2 separate regions of the Homo sapiens genome follow, and region 1 is linked to region 2. Evidence: promoter capture Hi-C in 16 types of primary human blood cells and fetal thymus (Javierre and others, 2016). All regions are on one chromosome and are shown on one strand. Each heading gives the region's core, a stretch centred on a gene start or on the middle of the fragment in contact. The rest is flanking DNA. Distances are from core to core; before and after follow the strand shown. Region 1 overlaps PHACTR4 (phosphatase and actin regulator 4). Region 2 holds the start of TRNAU1AP (tRNA selenocysteine 1 associated protein 1).

Region 1 (3,241 bases), core at 17-2,516, 170 kb before region 2:
TTGGAATGGTTTCAGCAGGAATGGTACCAGCTCTTCTTGGTACATCTGGTAGAATTCAGCTGTGAATCCATCCGGTCCTGGGCTCTTTTTGGCTGATAGGCTATTTATTACTGACTCAGTTTCAGAGCTCGTTATTGGTCTGTTCAGGGATTCAATTTCTTCCTGGTTCAGTCTTGGGAGGGTGTATGTGTCTAGGAATTATCCATTTTTTCTAGATTTTCTAGTTTATGTACATAGAGGTGTTCATAATATTATCAGATGGTTATTTGTATTTCTGTGGGGTCAGTGGTAATAGCCCCTTTTCATTTCTGATTGTGATTATATTTGAATCTTCTCTCTTTTTGTCTTTATTAGTCTAGCTAGCAGTCTGTTGTATTACTTTTTTCAAAGACCCAACTCCACCAGGCGCAAGGGCTCATGCTTGTAATCCCAGCACTTTGGGAGGCCAAGGTGGATGGATCCCTTGAGGCAAGGAGTTTCAGACCAGCCTGGCCAACATGGCAAAACCCCATCTCTACTAAGAATATAATTAGCCATGCATGGTGGTGCACACCTGTAATCCCAACTACTTGGGAGCCTAAGGCATGAGAATCGCCTCAACCTGGGAGGTGGAGGTTGCAGTTAGCCAAGACTGCACCTCTGTGCTCCAGCCTGGACAACAGAGTGAGACTCTATCTCAAAAAATAATAACAAATAAATAAATAAAATAAAACAAAAAACCCAAATCCCTCCTGGATTTGTTGATCTTCTGAATGAGTTTTCAGTGTCTCAATCTCCTTCAGTTCAGCTCTGATACTGATTATTCTCTTTTGCTAGCTTTGGGATTGATTTGCTCTTGGTTATCTAGTTCTTTTAGTTGTAATGTTAGGTTGTTAAATTGAGATCTTTGTAACTTTTTGATGTGGATACTTAGTGCTCTAAATATCCCTCTTAACACTGCCTTAGCTGTGTCCCAGAGATTCTGGTATGATATATCTTTGTTTTCATTAGTTTCAAAGAACTTCTTGATTTCTGCCTTAATTTCATTATTTACTCAAAAGTCATTCAGGGCCAGTAACAGTGGCTTATGCCTGTAATCTCAGCACTTTGGTAGGCCGAGGCAGGTGGATCACCAGAGGTCAGGAGTTTGAGACCAGCCTGGCCATCATGGTAGAACCCCATCTCTACTAAAAATTCAAAAATTAGCCAGGCATGGTGGTGCATGCCTATAGTCCTGGCTTCTTGAAAGGCCGAGACAGGAGAATTGCTTGAACCTGGAGGCGGAGGTTGCAGTGAGCTGAGATCGTGCCACTGCACTCCAGCTTGGGCGACAGAGCAAGACTCTGTCTCAAAAAAAAAAAAAAAAAAGTCATTCAGGAGCAGGTCATTCAATTTCCATGTAATTGTATGGTTTTAAGTGAATTTTTTTTTTTTTTTTTTTGGAGACGGAGCCTCATTCTGTTGCCCAGGCTGGAGTGCGGTGGTGCGATTCCAACTCACTGCAACCTCCGCTTCTGGGTTCAAGCGATTCTCATGCCTTAGCCTCCCGAGTAGCTGGGATTACAGGTGTGTGCCACCACGCCCAGCTAATTTTGTATTTTTAGTAGAGACAGGGTTTCAGCATGTTAGCCAGGCCGATCTTGAGCTCCTGACCTCAGGTGATCCGCCCTCCTTGGCCTCCCAAAGTGCTGGGATTACAGACGTAAGCCACCACGCCCGGCTGGTTTTAAGTGAATTTCTTAGTCTTAATTTCTAGTTTGATTCCGCTGTGGTCCAAGAGATTGTTTACTATGATTTCAGTTCTTTTGCATTTGCTGAGAAGTGTTTTACTTCCGATTATGCAACCAATTTTAGAGTATATGCCATGTGGCAATGAGAAGAATGTGTATTCTGTTTTTCATTTGTTTGTTTGTTTTTCTGAGACAGAGTCTTGGTGTGTCACCCAGGCTGGAGTGCAGTGGTGCGATCTCGGCTCATTGCAGCCTCCACCTCCCAGATTCAAACAATTCTCCTGCCTCAGCCTCCCGAGTAGCTGGGACTACAGGCATGTGCCACCAATCTTAGCAAATTTTTGGACTTTTAGTAGAGACAGGGTTTCACCATGTTGGCCAGGCTGGTCTTGAACTCCTGACCTCAAGTGATCTGCCTGCCTCGGCCTCCCAAAGTGCTAGGATTACAGGCATGAGCCACCACGCCTGACCAATTCTGTTGTTTTTGGATGGAGGGTTCTGTAGGTGTCTTATCAGGTCCCTTTCACCCACTGCTGTTTGAATCCTGAATATCTTTGTTAATTTTCTGTCTCGATGATCTAATAATGTCAGTGGGGTGTTAAAGACTCTCACTATTATTTTGTGGGAAACTAAGTCCCTTTGAAGGTCTCTAAGAACTTGCTTTATGAATCTGGGTGCTCCTATGTTGGGTATATATATGTGGCGGTGTGAGCCACCGTGCCCAGCCTTGTGTTTTTTTAAATAATGCTATCCAATTATTTTCAGTAGCAATTGATTTGTGAGGGCATTTTGAACCTTGTAAGACACCAAATAATGACGTGTTTTTATTAGTCTTGTGATACTAGTATCCACCTAGGTCATTAGATATTTAAAATCTGCACTTTATATAGGACCAACGATATTTAAAAAAATAGTGAAGTATCTTTCTTACACTAGTGTTGATGATGTGTATATTTCTTGTTTACCTGAGTATAGGGCTCATAGAGAAATGGTTGTTCTTTGGGAAAGCTTAGGTGAGTTGATTGTTTATTAAGCAAGCTTAAAAATTAGAGCCCTCAGGCTGGGCGAGATGGCTCACGCCTGTAATCCCAGCACTTTGGGAGGTTGAGGCAGGTGGATCACGAGGTCAAGAGATCGAGACAACCCTGGCCAACATGGTGAAACCCTGTCTCTACTAAAAATACAAAAATTAGCTGGGCGTGGTGGCACGCACCTATAGTCCCAGCTACTCGGGAGGCTGAGGTAGGAGAATCACTTGAACCCAGGAGGCAGAGGTTGCAGTAAGCTGAGATTGTGCCACTGCACTCCAGTGTGGCAACAGAGCGAGACCCTGTCTCAAAAAAAAAAAAAAAAAAAAATTAGAGCCCTCAAACAGTTTTCCCCCTCCTCCAGTGAGTGACAAATAGAAAGAGGGAGGATTCCAAGAGATAATATTTAAAAATAGCCTTACATCTTCTTCCCTTCATTCATGGATTAATCCCTGTTAAAAATGCTGCCAGTAAATAGCAAAGAATAACTGTATAGAACCAATC
Region 2 (3,206 bases), core at 225-2,724:
TTGCCCAATAAAACATCTCAACCAGCTCTTTTCGGAGAGTCAGGGAATTCTCGCTCTCTTGTGCTGCCTCCCTTATACCCAGGCATAAGCTCCAATGAAGACTTGTCTGGGAAAACTTTTTTGGCCTCATGTTAATTTCTGTTGGATTGAGAGCCTAAGAACCCCTGGTAACAATAGGGAGGTAGTGGAACCGGGTTGTCCGGAGGGATATTTTCACTTTTTTGGATGCACTTGTATCTGCAGTTTTTTACAACGAGCATATATTAATGTTGTAATTATGTGTGTGTTTGTGTGTGTGTGTACGTGTGTATGTTTTTTGTTTTTTGTTTTTTTTTTAATTTGAGACAGAGTCTCACTCTGTCGCCCAGGCTGGAGTGCAGTGGCGCGATCTCGGCTCACTGCAGCCTCTGCCTCCCGGGTTCAAGTGATTATCCTGTCTCAGCCACCTGAGTAGCTGGGACTACAAGTGCACACCATCATACCCGGCTAATTTCTGTATTTTTAGTAGAGACGGGGTTTCACCATGTTGGCCAGGATGGTCTCGATCTCCTGACCTCGTGATCTGCCCACCTCGGCCTCCCAAAGTGTTGGGATTACAGGCGTGAGCCACCGCGCCCGGCCTTGTTTGTTTTCTAAATATGTAAAGTCAGAAATTAACCCAAGTAACGAGCATACATATATATGTGTGTGTGTGTGTGTATATATGTATATATATGTGTATGTGTGTATATATGTGTATATGTGTATTATGTGTGTATATGTGTATATATGTGTATATATATGTGTATGTGTGTGTGTGTGTGTATGTATATATATGGAGTCTTGCTCTGTCACCAGGCTGCGGTGCAATGGCGCTATCTCGGCTCACTGCAACTTCTGCCCCCTGGGTTTAAGCGATTCTCCTGCCTCAGTCTCCCGAGTAGCTGCGACTACCAGCGCTCGCCACCACGCCCGCTAATTTTCGTACTTTTAGTAGAGAGGGGGTTTCCCCCTGTTGGCGAGGATGGTCTCGATTTCTTCACCTCGTGATCCGCCCGCCTCGGCCTCCTCAAGTGCTGGGATTACAGGCGTGAGCCACCGTGCCCAGCCCTAACGAGCATATATTAATGTTGTAATTATATGTGTCTGTGTGTGTGTGGTTTTGTTTTCTATATAAAGTCAGACGAGTGTGTGTGTGTAGTTTTGTTTGTTTTCTAAATATATAAAGTCAGAAATAAACCCAAGTAACCCAGCCGCCTGGGCCAGGTGGTATCTGGCCCGCCCCATTCCAGCCTGAACTCCGCCCACCGCGATCCGGAAGCCTAGCGCCCAGTGGGTTGCAGGAAAAACCCGGAGCTGAACACACTGCCCGACCCGGGCCGCTGCGCTCGGGAGCCTGCGCAGAAGCCGTCGGAGGCGCATGCTCTGTAGCGGTCTCCGCAGCCAGGATTGGCGCCCGCGCGGGCCTTCGAGCCCCGCCCGCAGAGCCCCGCCCGCAAAGCCCCACCCCGGTGCGCGGGTATGGCGGCCAGCCTGTGGATGGGCGACGTGAGTGAGGGCAGCCGTCCGGGGTCTGAAGACAAGGAAGCATCTCGGTTTCGCGAGAGAGGAAGGATCTGAGTGGGAGGGGACTTGGGATCCCAGAAAGGGGAGACGTGTGACGGGGGTTCTTTTTGGTGACACAGAAGCGGGTTCCAGCATCTAAGTGAAGAGGCTGAGTCCGTGAGGCTAGGGGTCCTGGGGCCCCACCTGGGTTCGTGGGAGGGAAAGGTGGTGCTTTGGGGACATAGAATGGGAGCAATCCAAGGACTGAGGCGCGCTGTTCTGGGACCGGAGGAGTGGGGTTTCTAGGTCCAAGGGGAGGCTCCCTAAAGCGGGGCAAGCTTGAACCAAAAGAGCTGGGGTTTCAGGCCGCTCAGTGGAGGCGAACCTCGCCCCTCGCTCCCCCAGCGGCGCGTAGCCAGCCCTGGGCTGAACGGGAGGGGCTCTGGAACCCGGAGTGGGAAGCCCGGCCGCCGGCCTGAGCCGCTGTGCTCTTGTTTTTACGCAGCTGGAACCCTACATGGATGAGAACTTCATCTCCAGAGCCTTTGCCACCATGGGGGAGACCGTAATGAGCGTCAAAATTATCCGAAACCGCCTCACTGGGTAAGTCTCATCTCAGGTCTCTCTTAATACATCTCGTTGCAGCTGTCATGTACGAGAATGTAAACATCGTAGTCATGGCTTCTCACTACCCCTAGTAATAGTCACTGTAAAATTATAACAGCTAACATTTTGAGGTCCCAATGAGTGGAAGGATGGCATGTAGCTTAAGGGTAGGACTTGCCAGGCGTTGTGACTCACACCTGTAATCCCAGCACTTTGGGAGGCTGAGGTGGGTGGATCACCTGAGGTCAGGAGTTTGAGACCAGCCTGGCCAACATGGTGAAACCCCGTCTCTACTAAAAATACAAAAATTAGCCGGGTGTGGTGGCAGGCACCTGTAACCCCAGCTACTCCGGAGGCTGAGGCATGAGAATCACTTGAACCCGGGAGGCGAAGGTTGCAGTGAGCTGAGATCGTGCCACTGTACTTCAGCTTGGACAACAAGAGCAAAACAATGTCTCAAAAAAAAAAAAAACAAAAAAACAAAAAACGCAGGACTCAAGCGAGACTGGGTTTGAAAGCTATTTCTACTCTATGACCTTGGGTAAGTTACTTAACTGCTCTGTCTCATTCACTTTGAGTATAAAAATGGAAATAACAGCACCTACCTCCTAGAGTTATGGTGAGGATTAAATGAGTTAATTCACATTCATCATTAGGACAGTGTATGGCATATAGCATATGCTCAGTAAGTATAGTCAGATTACGATCTGCTGAGTAATAAGCAGTTTACATCCATTATCTCCTTAAAACCTCAGAAACTTCTGAGGTAGGTAAATACTATTATGAAGAGGCTTAATAACTTGAAGAGTTACAATAAATAGCCGGGCGCAGTGGCTCTCGCCTGTAATCCTAGCACTTTGGGAGGCCGAGGCAGGCCGGATCACGAGGTCAGGAGATTGAGACCATCCTGGCTAACACGGTGAAACCCCATCTCTACTAAAAATACAAAAAAAATTAGCTGGGCATGGTGGCGGGCACTTGTAGTCTCAGCTACTTGGGGGGCTGAGGCAGGAGAATGGCGTGAACCCAGGAGGCGGAGCTTGCAGTGAGCCGAGATCGCTCCACTCCACTCCAGC

Evidence for each region. The method cuts DNA at HindIII sites, captures the fragments that hold promoters and counts their contacts. A CHiCAGO score of 5 or more calls a contact.
Region 1: a fragment that was not itself captured here is called in contact with the fragment with the promoter of TRNAU1AP in region 2 in 1 of 17 cell types (endothelial precursors); the score reaches 5.0 in endothelial precursors.

The regions. Positions count from the first base shown.
Region 1 is chr1:28,384,214-28,387,454 of GRCh38, forward strand. The region is part of intron 1 of PHACTR4 (phosphatase and actin regulator 4); the gene reads left to right. Among named protein-coding and RNA genes, the nearest start is that of PHACTR4, 16 kb to the left of the region's middle. The HindIII fragment of the contact is 2,897 bases long and covers 1-2,715 here.
Region 2 is chr1:28,551,611-28,554,816 of GRCh38, forward strand. It overlaps TRNAU1AP (tRNA selenocysteine 1 associated protein 1), which reads left to right and starts at 1,475. Exons shown (of 9, transcript NM_017846.5): 1 at 1,475-1,527; 2 at 2,030-2,127. The coding sequence starts at 1,501. RefSeq lists enhancers at 1,187-1,481, 1,205-1,264 and silencers at 1,415-1,554, 2,487-2,781. The HindIII fragment of the contact is 4,615 bases long and covers 1-1,860 here.